Linked DNA regions of Homo sapiens: region 2 is linked to region 1. Evidence: promoter capture Hi-C in 16 types of primary human blood cells and fetal thymus (Javierre and others, 2016). All regions are on one chromosome and are shown on one strand. Each heading gives the region's core, a stretch centred on a gene start or on the middle of the fragment in contact. The rest is flanking DNA. Distances are from core to core; before and after follow the strand shown. Region 1 holds the start of ZNF260 (zinc finger protein 260). Region 2 holds the start of ZNF416 (zinc finger protein 416).

Region 1 (6,205 bases), core at 2,146-4,645:
TATCTTTCGCCCAACATCAAAAGTCCTATGGATGATGAAGAACTTATACCCAGTCTGAAGAATGTTGGCTTATAACACCCCTTGGCATACCTCTTCACTACCCCAGAGGTAGAGTTAACACAGAGTAATCTCAGAGAGTAACAGAAACCTAAGGCAATCTGGGCATGTTTCCTCTGTGCAACCAAAAAGAAACTAAGTAGCACTGCTATCATTTATTAACTACTTACTATTCTTTCATTAATCAAATATTTACTGAGAGCCAACTATGTGCTAGCCATTGTAAATGGTGAAGATGGAACAACTAAACAAAAAGACAAGTCCCTTCTTTCACAAGCTTGAGTCTAGTTACAATGAAGAAAATTAAAGTGCAACTACACATTTCATGCATAGATAGGTAGAATATACATATCTTCTAATCAAATTGCTTTCACACAACATATATAACTTAAAATCCTCTATTTTCATTTAATATGACATTGTAAACTCTCATCTCCTTCCTTCCATTATAAATGCATGGTTATGGCCGGGCATGGTGGCTCACACCTGTAATCCCAGCACTTTGGGAGGCCGAGGCAGACGGATCACCTGAGGTCAGGAGTTTGAGACCAGCCTGGCCAACATGGTGAAACCCCATCTCTTCTAAAAATACAAAAATTAGCCAGGCATGGTGGTGCACGCCTGTAGTCCCAGCTACTCAGGAGGCTGAGGCAGGAGCATCACTTGAACTCAATAGGCAGAGGTTGCAGTGAGCTGAGATTGCGCCACCGCACTCCAGACTGGGCAACAGAGCAAGTTTCTGTCTCAAAAAAAAAAAAAAAAAAATGCATGGTTATGAGATAGCTGCTCTGCATGTAGCACAATATCCACATTCCAGACAGAAAGGGGAAAAAGAATGTATGCACACTGAGCCTGCCCCACCCCATCCCCATACCTTTAAAGAACTGCCTGAGTGGCCAGGTGCAGTAGCTCATGCCTGTAATCCCAGCACTTTGGGAGGCCTAGGCAGGCAGATCACCTGAGGTCAGGAGTTCGAGACCAGCCTGGCCAACATGGTGGAAACCTCATCTCTACTAAAAACACAAAAATTAGCCGGGCATGGTGGCAGTCGCCTGTAATCCCAGCTACTCAGGAGCCTGAGGCAGGAGAACCGCTTGAACCCGGGAGGTGAAGGTTGCAGTGAGCTGAGATCACGCTACTGCACTCCAACTTGGGTGACTGAGTGAAGACTCCATTTCAAAAAAAAAAAAACTGTCTGAGAAGCCCAATCTAAGAACTTTAACTTACATCAACAGGAGAAGCTAGAACACGTAGAGTTTGGGTTTTTTGTTTGTTTTCTGTTTGTTTTTCTTTAAGCAGAGCAAACAAGATCAGGACTTTTATAGCAATAAAGAAGGGAATGGATATTGGGTTAGCCACATATGTGGCAAAACAATTAACAGTATCTACAATTTAATATATTCTCAAATAGCTTTCAATTATGTAGGAAGTTAAAATATCACTTAAAACATGAGATACATTTCAATATGTGCATATACAAATATGTGTATGTATATTTATGTATATGCATATATATCTACATATGTATATAGGTAAAACCAAACTAAGCATACATGATAAACTGAACCATTTGCTATATTAATAAGACAAAATTAGGAAGATTTTTCCAAAGAGTAACAGAAGATTCCAGGTTACTTGATAAGTCCTTTTAGGCATTTGCTAAGAAAAAAAAAATCAGCCGGGCGCAGTGGCTCATGCCTGTAATCCCAGCACTTTGGGAGGCCGAGGTGGACGGTTCACAAGGTTAGGAGTTCAAGACAAGCCAGGCCAACATAGTGAAGCCCCGTCTCTACTAAAAATACAACAACAAAAAAATTACCCGGGCGTGGTGGCCGGCACCTGTAATCCTAGCTACTCGGTAGGCTGAGGAAGGAGAATCGCTTGAACCTGGGAGGCGGAGGTTGCAGTGAGCCGAGATCGCGCCACTGCACACCAGCCCGGGCGACAGTGCGAGACTCCATCTCAAAAAAAAAAAAAATCAGGTCCTGGAAAAATAAAGCATTTCAGGAACAAAGAGAAAACTTCAAGGCACCTTAAACATGGCTTTTAGATATCACAACCGTTATTTCCTCTCCTCTGGGGAACCTCTCTTGGAGGACAGAAATGAGAAGGGAGACAATACACCTCCCCTAGGGCCCAAATGACAAGGCCAGAGCTTACTCTGCGTTCCCCTCCCCCGCCATGGGAGGGCTATCAGAGGAAACTGGGGCTTCCAACTCAAAACTCAGTGTCATAGAAAAATCCCCTTTACTATCACGGGGCCGAGCTGTCTTCTGCTCTCACATATGACTATGTGTGACATTTGGTCAAAGACACACAAACACAGTCTCAACTCCACGCACACCCAATGCTTCACAGTCACACACCCACCACTGTACACAAAGTCACAAGCACCCACCCTCCATACTCCCACACAAGGACACAGAGTCACAACTACATAAGTACAAAGCTCCCTATATCTGCACACAAACGAACATATGGTCACAGAGTTACAATCACACACCCACCGCGGGCACACAGTCACAGCTAACCCACACCCTCACACAGCGTTACACAGTCACACAATAACAGTCCTAACACAGGGACTCACGGGACACCCGCAGAGTCCTCCCCACATCCGTACACAAGGTGTCACACACAATCACAATCACACACACACTGTGCTAGGACATACATTCACAAAAACACAATTTCACAACCGCCCTTCTCGGCGCGTTCCGCCTGAACAGACTTAATACTCAGTCTCAACCTCCGCACCGGATTCCAGACGCTTCACCTCCAACCTCCTCCTGATCCTGTAGTCTCCGAGCCGACCCGCTCAGAGGCCAGCACCTGGGTCGCGTGCAGCTCTCCCCCGAGCCGCGGGAGTCGCGAGGGGAGGGGCCGAGGGCGCGGCGCCTTCTGGGAAATGTAGTTCAGCGCCACGCCCGCGATGAGCAAGATGGCGCCCGGCTTGAGCCCAGCCAAAGGGATTACCCTCATTCCCGAACCGTGTCTGAGAGTCTCCTGGGGTTCCTGGCTTAGTATCGCACCGTGGCTGTTACATAAAGTCAGCACAGCGTGTTTAAGCTGATGTTACACCACTACCCAATCCCAGGGATAGAGTAAACTAAGACTAAGGCCTTACACCCCTGCCCCGGCCAGGGAGACAGTCCCACAAGCTCTGGCGGAGGAAAAGTTCGCGCGAAAAGCTGACTCAAACCGCTGAACCTTCTGGGAAATGTAGTCTACCCTCAAAAGAGTGGCACGGAGGACGGGCCAAGATCTCTCGATTCCGTCCGGTTCTGAGTCGGGGCCTGGCCCAGCCCAGGAGACCTCTGGGAGCGCTGCCCGCGGAAGGAGTGCGCAGGCGCGGAATCTCCGACTTGCCATGGTCGTCTTTGTCTGCCGGTGAGTTGGGTTTCGGCCCTGTGGGACTTGGGTTTCTGGACACTGAAACGGGCCAGGGACGCTGGAGGGGAGGATTTGCAGTGCCTGCGACGGGGCTGGGAGTATGGAGGGGAGGAATCGCCTTCTATGATGTGCGGTGATCCGAGCTTGTGTGGCTGGGGGCAGGGGTACAGTTCGGGTGGGTTCGCGGGTGGGTGACCGAGAGTGTGAGGGGGTGTTGAGGGTGCAGAGTTAGTGAGAAACTGGTTCCAAGTTTGTGAGGATGGACGGATGGCTTTGTGAGGTAGTAACCTCTAAGCCTCACTTTTCTCATTTCTAAAATAATAAAGATGCGTTTTCTGGAAAATAGGAAACGGAAAAGGCTAAGGAATTGAGCGGATAAGTAATTTTAAAGGTGATTTTTTATATAAAAGCAGACCTATTGTGGAGTAGAAAACAAAATCAGCATTACCTTTCCATTATTTTTTTAAAGAGGCAAGATTTCGGAAAAACTTGTTACTGGGTGCCTGTACACCCAGTAGGCATTGACTTTTCTTAATACTTTGGAGAAACTTTGGTGCAGTTGCTTGGAGAAACCCTGAACTAAGGAATATCTTTAAGAGGTAGTTTCCAATAGCGCAGACGGCACAGAATTTGGAAGCTACTTGTCCTGCCTTTAGCGCAGAGGTCAAGAAACTCCCTAGTTCGTCAGTGAGGGCAGCAATCTCACTCCTAATTTAATCAGGGTTTCCCCAGCCTTTTGTAAATATAGGGGAAATTCTTTTCTTGTGTATACAAAGATAGAAGTATCCTATCTTCAAGTATCTTGTCACACTTATTCTTAACATATCAACATATTCAAGTATCTTGTCACACTTATTCTTAACATATTTTTCAATAAAATAAAAAAGTAACAGGGTTAATAGTTTTGAAATATACAGAAAAAGTAAAAGATACAAAGAAGACAGGACTTAGTTTCTGCTTTTCCCCTAACTATTGGTGTTTCTAAGTTTCTGGCCTTGATCATCTAAGTACTCCTATCAGCAACAACATTACACTGCCATCCATGGCTTCATCTAATACAGATGACTAATAAATGTCTGTTTCTGCTGGAGGCTTGTCCTGAGCTCCTAATCCATATTATCTAATTGCCCAATGTGCAGTCCACCTGGAAGTTACAGGGAACTTCAAGCTCTTTATGTCTAAAGGGCTCCTTCTTCCTGCAGTCTGCCTCCATCTATTTCCCCTCTGTACCTGTTTCAGCAATTTATAGCACTGTCTAGCCAGGTTCTAAGGCACTTACATCTTAGAGAAGGCTTCTAAGTAAGTTTGATCCTTTGATTTGTTATATCCCATTACAAATTGTAAACCAAGGTTTCTCAGCACACATAATCATAAATGTATATGTTTGCTGAATCAGTGAATGAACAGTCAGCCCTCTGTGTCTGTAGGCTCTGCTTCCACGGATTCAACAAACATGAATCATAACTGTTGTTAAGCTTGCGATGGTTGTATCTGTACGTGTACAGATTTTTTTTTCTTGTCATGATTCCCTAAACAATACAGTATAACAACTATTTACCAGACATTTACGTTGTATTACGTATGATAAGTAATCTGGAGATAATTTTAAAGTATATGGGAGGATGTGCATAGGTTATATGTAAATATACTTCCATTCACTTTATTTTTATTTTTTTGAGATGGAGTCTCACTCTGTCACCCAGACTGGAGTGCAGTGGTGCAATCTCGGCTCACTGCCACCTCTGCCTCCTGGGTTCAAGCGATTCTCCTGCCTCAGCCTCCCAAGTAGCTGAGGTACAGGTGTGTGCCACCATGCCCAGCTAATTTTTTTATTTTTAGTAGAGACAGGGTTTCACCATCTTGGCCAGCCTGGTCTCGAACTCCTGACCTCAGGTGGTCAGCCTGCCTCAGCCTCCCAAAGTGCTGGGATTACAGGCGTGAGCCACCATGCCTGGCTTTATATTTGAAGTATAAGGGACTTGAGCATCTGCAGATTTTGGTATCCACAGTGATCCTGGAACCAATCTCCTGTGATATCAAGGGAAGATTATTATTATAGGACACTTACTATATTTAACTTCTCCTAGTTAATCTAAGTAAAATATTAGTCCTCTAAATTTTTTAGAGCTCTGACCTATAAATACCATCAGAATAATTTCCTGTATTTTTTTCCATATCACTCAAGGTTGGTTACTTCAGACTTATGAGAAAAGTGTTATGGGGAAAAATTATATGCAAAGATGTGACTTCACTCAGGAGCAAGGTCACAAGTGACACCTGCTCGAAGGAACCTATACAGGTTGTGATTGTGGATAACTCTGGCATCTTAGTCTCTCATAGTTTCTCTGTGTAACCTAAATTCTGAAAATAAGGTCCCTTCTGTTTCTCATTTTTGAAATGTTTAGAGCTTTTTTTTTTTTTTCCTTCCTTGAGATGGAGTCTCCACTGTCGCTTAGGCTGGTGTATAGTGGCGTGACCTTGGTTCAGTGCAACCTCTGCCTCCTGGCTTCAAGTGATTCTCTTGCCTCAGCCTCCTGAGTAGCTGGGACTACAGGCATATGCCACCACGCCTGGCTAATTTTTGTATTTTTAGTAGAGACAGGGTTTCACCATGTTGGCCAGGCGGGTCTCGAACTCCTAATCTCAAGTGATCTGCCTGCCTCGGCCTCCCAAGGTGCTGAGATTACAGACGTGAGCTTCCATGCCCGGCCATTGAAATGTGTAGAGCTTTTGAATGGCATAATGGGTCTGGCCT
Region 2 (6,205 bases), core at 2,701-5,200, about 21 Mb before region 1:
CGTCTCTACAAAAACTAAAAAATTACCCGAGTATGGTGGTGCACCTGTAATCCTAGCTACTCAGGATGCTGAGGTGGGAGTATCGCTTGAGCCCAGGAGATCACGGTTACAGTGAGTTATGATTATGCCACTGCACTCCAGCCTGGGCAACGGAGCCAGACCCTGTCTCAATAAATAAATAAGTAAATAAATAAATAAATAAAAAGAAAAGAGAAAAGAAAACATTGACCCAACACTCGGAGCTGAAGTCTCACCTACCAGACTCCACCCTGTCACCACAGGAAACCAAAATATCAGGCTATGGCTGGAACCCAAGTGCTGAAACACTTCCGAAAGCAAGGGGTCTGTTGTCTCTGAATGTTGGGTGATAACAACCCCATCCCCGCCTTGCCATCAATAGATTTGTTTGAAGTCCTTCCAATCAAAATCCACCCTTCCAGTGCTTACCAACCTGTCCTTCCTAATCCTTAAAAGCTGCCCCAAACCCCATATTGGGGAGACAGATTTGAGCTGGACTCCTGTCTTCTTGTTTGTCGACTTGCAATAAAGGTTTGCTTTTCTCAAAAACCTGGTGCCATGGCATTGGCTTCTGTGTGCGTCGGACAGCAACCCTTTTCCTTATTAACACTGGCACCCTCTAGGTGACACGGTTGTGCACCTCATTACCCTCTGGTCCCAGAGGCCAGCAGCCCCCACAATGGCCACCTAACACCTGCCCTCACCCTCACTGTCCTTTCAGAGTTGCCACATCACATCAAACATGGCTCCCCAAACTTCAAGCATGTGTGTCCATCTAGGCATAGAACTAGCGGAATTGCCTGGATAACTTGGGGAGGAGGGATAGCCTAGTTCGGAAAACCTGCTCTGTGTGGCATGCCCAGGGGACAAATGACCCACCTACTCCTGAGGCCCAGTCCTTCAGGGAGAAGCCCAGCCAGAGATGAGGGAGGCTGCCAGTGGTCACAAAGCAGTAATAAATTCCATCTATGGCTAAACTTATGTGAGACCAACAGTCAATAAGTACCTAAAGAGAAAGCTGAAAAAACATTGAAGATAGAGTGCAAGAAAGTGTGAAGCCCTTAGGATGTGGATGGGTTGTTTTGTGTTTTCTTTCTGTGTTTGTCTATTTGGCACAGCTATTCAAGTATAGCTTGGCAGCGTCATTCATATAGTCCACTAACTTCGATTACTGTTCACCCAGTTAATCCCAAGGGATTCCGCAGGTGTGGGGAGTGTTGACCTCAAGGACCATGACATCTAGCAAGGGACTGAAGATAGTGGAGGCCAGCTCCATCTGCAGGTAGAACATTCCAGAGGGCCCAGGTTTAGCTCCATCCTGTCTTTATTTTTTTGATTTCTTATCTTTAGTCTTTAGGGGTACATAGTAGGTGTATATATTTATGAGTTATATGGTGTAGTTTGATACAGGCACACAGTGTGTAATAATCACATTGGGATAAATGGTATTCATCACCTCAAGCATTTATCATTTCTTTGTGTTATAAGCATTCCAGTTATACTCTTAGTCACGTTTAATTCTTTTTTTTTTTTTTTTTTTTTGAGACGAAGTCTTGCTCTGTTGCCCAGGCTGGAGTGCAGTGGCGCGATCTCAGCTCTCTGCAAGCAACGCCTCCCGGGTTAACGCCATTCTCCTGCCTCAGCCTCCTTAGTAGCTGGGACTACAGGTGACCACCACCACGCCCGGCTAATTTTTTGTATTTTTAGAGATTTATTATAGAGATTTGATTTTAGAGATGGGGTTTCACCGTGTTAGTCAGGATGGTCTCGATCTCCTGACCTTGTGATCTGCCCGCCTCGGCCTCCCAAAGTGCTGGGATTACAGGCGTGAGCCACCATGCCCGGTGAGTTATGTTTAATTCTACAATAGATTGTTGTTGACTGTAGTCACCTTGTTGTGCTATCAAATACTATGTCTTATTCCTTCTATCTGACTATATTTTTGCACCCATTAACTATCCCCACTTTCCCTTCCATTTCTGCTATCCTTCTCAGCCTCTGGTAGCCATCCTTCTAAGCTTAATCTCCGGGAGTTCAATTGTTTAAATTTTTAGCTCCCACAAATAAGTGAGAACATGTGAAGTTTGTCTTTCTGTGCCTGGCTTATTTTACTTAACATAATTTCCTCCAATTTCACCCGTCTTCTTGCAATTGATGGGATCTCATTCTTTTTTTATGGCTAAATACTACTCCATTGTGTATATGCATCACATTTTCTTTATCCATTTATCTATGGACAGTTAGGTAGCTTCCAAATCTTGGCTGTTGTGAATAGTGATGCAATAAACATGGGAGTGCAGATCTCTATTAGATATACTGATTTCTTTTCTGGGTGGTGTAAACTGTATCATATGGTAATTCTATTTTTACTTCTGTGGGGAACCTCCAAACTGTTCCCCATAGTGGCTTTACTAATTTACACTCCCACCAACAGCGTATGAAGTTTCCCTTTCCTCTCTGTCCTGGCCAGCATTCATTATTCCCTGTCTTTTGCATAAAAGTCATTTTAACTAGAGTGAGATGATATCTCATTGTAGTTTTGATTTGCATTTTTATAGTGATCAATGATGTTAAGCATGTTTTCATCTACCTGCTTGCCATTTATCTGTCTTTTAAAATTTTTAGTTTTATGAGTACATAGTATGTATGTATATTTATGGGATACGTGAGATATTGTGATACAGGCATACAATGTGTAATAATCATATCAGGGTACACAAGCATTTATCATTTCTTTGTGTTACAAACATTCTAGTTATAATACTCTTTTAGTTGTTTTTAATGTACAATAAATTACTGTTGACTGTAGTCTCTCTACTGTGCTATCAAATACTAGATCTTATTCATTCTACCCTGTCTTAAGGAGGCCTTGGTAGCCATGCTGAGGTTATGGGGTGCTGCTTCCAAAACCAAAAGTATTATGGGCAGCTGGTATGAAGGATCATAGGCTTATGGTCTGTGAGATCCTGTATGTTTAAGAAAGCCCAGTCTTATTGCCAGTAATTACTGTTTTAATGGTGTATAGCATGAGGCTGAAAGAGACAGTTTCCTGCATTGGAAGCTTTTACTCAACAAATGGCCGTTGTATGTGGTTCAGAGATTCCAAGAGGCATGAGAAGTGTAAACCAAAAATAAAATTCCCAGCCCCCCAACCATCTGAATGCATCCTTCCTCTTGGCCAAGGGCATTCCAAAGTTAATCTGAAAAACTAGTTCAGGACGTGATGGGAAGTGAGGGTCAGACTTGCCCTCCTCCCCTTGGAATTCAGGCACAACTGACCAGCATTAACATTAAAACAGAGATTTTAAGACTTCTTGTAGCAATAAGACAGTGAATTCCAGCCTGATTGTAGTATAGCATTACATGACAGATAGCAGGCCCTGAAAGGAATTGAAGTATTTTACTCTAAACTTTATTTATTTGACATATTTTGAAGAGGCCCTGCAAAGGTGTGTCTTGTGGAATCTGCATTTTGCTGAGAATCCCCTTTCCTCTCCAGGGTTTTTTTATTTTCATGGTCCAGGAAAGAATTAAGAGTCTGGCACCTTTCAAAGTCTGATAGGAAACATTTACAATCTATTCCCTCTGAAGCCTGCTGCGTGAAAGCTTCATCTGCTTAATAAGAACCTTGGTCTCTACAACCTCTTATCTTAACCCAGACACTCCCTTCAGTGGGTATGGGACTGCGGAAATCGGCCAGCGGCCCCTTTAAGGAGCAGCAAGTCCCTGTCTCGCTCTTGGTGTCGCGCCTTTTCCTAGCGCCCTCCGCGGGCCGCTTAGCCCTTGTTCCGGGTGAATCTCAGGGAGGGCACCGGAACCCTGGGCTTCTGAGAACTACATTACCCATAATGCCGAGCGCCAAGCTGCAAAGACGCGGAGCCAATCAACGTTCAGGAACGGACCTGTCTCCGTTTGTTGCATACGGTAAGGCGGGACTTCCGGCACCGCTCCGAGATGGTAATTTTGGTGGTTCTCTACCTCGGCCCACGCCGCCTGAGTTAGAAACGCTGCCTCCGGCACAGAGCGGGGGTCGCCCCGCTGCGCATCAGCCGGTGGGTCGCTGGCGCTGGTGGCAGCCGTGCCTGGGTTCCCGCCCCGGGTCGCCCGCCGCTCCCGGCCCCGCTCCGCTCACAATCCGATGGCGGCGGCCGTGCTTAGGGATTCGACTTCGGTGAGTGCTGCGTCTCCCGGGCCTCACCTGCCCTCTCCGCCGGAAATCCAACACCCTGCATGAGGGGCGCCTGCTTGCGTCCCTGCAGCCCGACCCTAGAGTCCAGGACTATGAGGCCCTCGCGGGTGGGGCTCCCATTTACAAGCCTGGTGTCGTGGGCTGTGGAGGGTGTGGCAGGCGGAGGGGCCGGTTTCTGTGAATCTTGCTGGGACGATTGAGCCAGTAACGTTCACGCCCGAATGGTAAAATGAGGCTCTTTCTTTTCAAGACGCTGAGAGCCATGGGTGGTTGTGAACAGACGAGGCACATGGTCTGAGTTAGACTTTTCAAATTTTTTCTAAAGTTACTCAGAGTTGGAACAGCCTGGAAGGGGGATAACACCGAGGCACAGGGAAGTTGAGTCCTTGTGCAAGGTCCCACAGCAGGTAAGAGTCACACGGAACTGAGGAGCAATAATAATTTAGTCATCACCAAGTCACCTGGCTCCAGGGCTGCGCAGGGAAACAAGGAGGCATCAGCCCATGGAGCTTCCACCATAGTTACCTGCCTCTCATAGCCTTCCTCTTCCCGCAGGTTCCCGTGACTGCAGAAGCTAAACTTATGGGCTTTACACAGGTGAGTGGAGAGTGTTTCGGGCCCTCACTGATGCTGACCCCAGTGTTTGTCTCTGAGATTGTGTTCTGGGACTCTTCTCTTGGCACTCTTTGGGTCCTTGGTTCTAGGAATCCTGAACAAACATCAGTCCCAGGGTCATACATCCAGGCTGGAAGCTGGTATAGAATGGTTCCTATTGCTGGGAACCAGTAAAGTAAGGTGTGGAACGTTGTCTCAGGCTTAGATACCAGATGAGCAAGTGCTTGAAGGTCAGGCTGAGCTGGTTTAGGAAACTACAGCTGTTTTCTTTCTCATGGGAACTGAAAGCTGGGATGCAGGAATCAGACAAAAAATGGCTGTCAGTTGTCGGGTGTTTCTTCTGGAGTGTGTGATGAGCAATGACAGTTTGGGGGCAGAGGAGGTATGTGATCTGATCCAGGTCTCATCAGGTTCCCTGTGTGTGGCCAAGCTGAGAGAACAGGCTGAGTGTGAGGTATGAGATAGGAAGATAGTGAAGAAGGCTGCTGCAGTAGTCCAGGTGAGTGTTACTGGTGGCTGGACTTGTGTGGTGGCTGTGGAGGTGGTAGTTGGATTTTAGATCAGTTTTTTTAAGTAGGGAAGCCTGGATTTTGAGATAGAAAAGTAGGATTTAGGGGTAAAAGCAAGGTGTTTGGGTTTAGCAGCTGGAAATATGGAAGCTCCACTAGCGAGGATTGTAAAGTTGGTAGTAGAGTCAGTTATCTCTAGAGATAATCAGAAATTTTGATATGGACCATCTTTATTTTTAAAATTTTTTAATAAAAATCATCTGAACATGGCCCAATGGGACATCTTTTAGAGTCTGAGATGTTTCAAAGAACAGTTAGTTTAGACATGAAGTGGATAGTTTATCCTACAGGACTAGAACTGTGTTGAGGGATTCAGGATAGAGACATTTAAAAGGTGGTGGCCACTACTTGCCTAGGGGTATAGCTTGGGACACAATTAGGAGGTGGAATCGTGATCACTTTGGTAATGCTATTACCAGCCCAGGGAAGGAAGGTTGGGGGTCACTACTGGCTCTCCTGCTTGGGGACATGGTTGGTCATGGTGGGAATCACAAAGACAGGTATGGGAGAGAGGTGGCTATGGTAGGGTGTGAGAGCAAGGATGATCTGGCAAGTGGCCAAGGATCTAGGAGAAGAGTGGGCATGAGATCAATGCTTGGAAGTAATTGAGACAAGATGACACTGAGACCAGAACTAGTGCTTACTCAGCACTCTGGATATATCTACCAGGGTTTTGTGGCAACCCTTGAGGTGTCAGGAATTTCAGGGAGGTGGATAAGTTGAGGGGCACAGGTGGTCATCTGGGAGTTATTGGGCCTGAGGTGTGGGGGTCCCCTGGGGCAGACTTTGAATGAGGGTTAGCAGGAGAGGAAGG

What was found. Contacts are between HindIII fragments. The CHiCAGO score rates a contact against its expected background, and 5 or more counts as called.
Region 2: a contact is called between the fragment with the promoter of ZNF416 here and the fragment with the promoter of ZNF260 in region 1, in 4 of 17 cell types (non-activated CD4 T cells, naive CD4 T cells, total CD4 T cells and 1 more). The highest score is 7.9, in non-activated CD4 T cells.

Annotation. Positions count from the first base shown.
Region 1 is chr19:36,525,461-36,531,665 of GRCh38, reverse strand. It overlaps ZNF260 (zinc finger protein 260), which reads left to right and starts at 3,395. Exons shown (of 3, transcript NM_001166037.2): 1 at 3,395-3,447. RefSeq lists enhancers at 2,668-2,867, 2,679-3,387, 3,018-3,647, 3,388-4,098. The HindIII fragment of the contact is 4,591 bases long and covers 337-4,927 here.
Region 2 is chr19:57,576,656-57,582,860 of GRCh38, reverse strand. ZNF416 (zinc finger protein 416) reads left to right here and starts at 3,950. Exons shown (of 4, transcript NM_017879.3): 1 at 3,950-4,189; 2 at 4,763-4,804. The coding sequence starts at 4,157. RefSeq lists a silencer at 4,041-4,260. The HindIII fragment of the contact is 6,514 bases long and covers 3,627-6,205 here.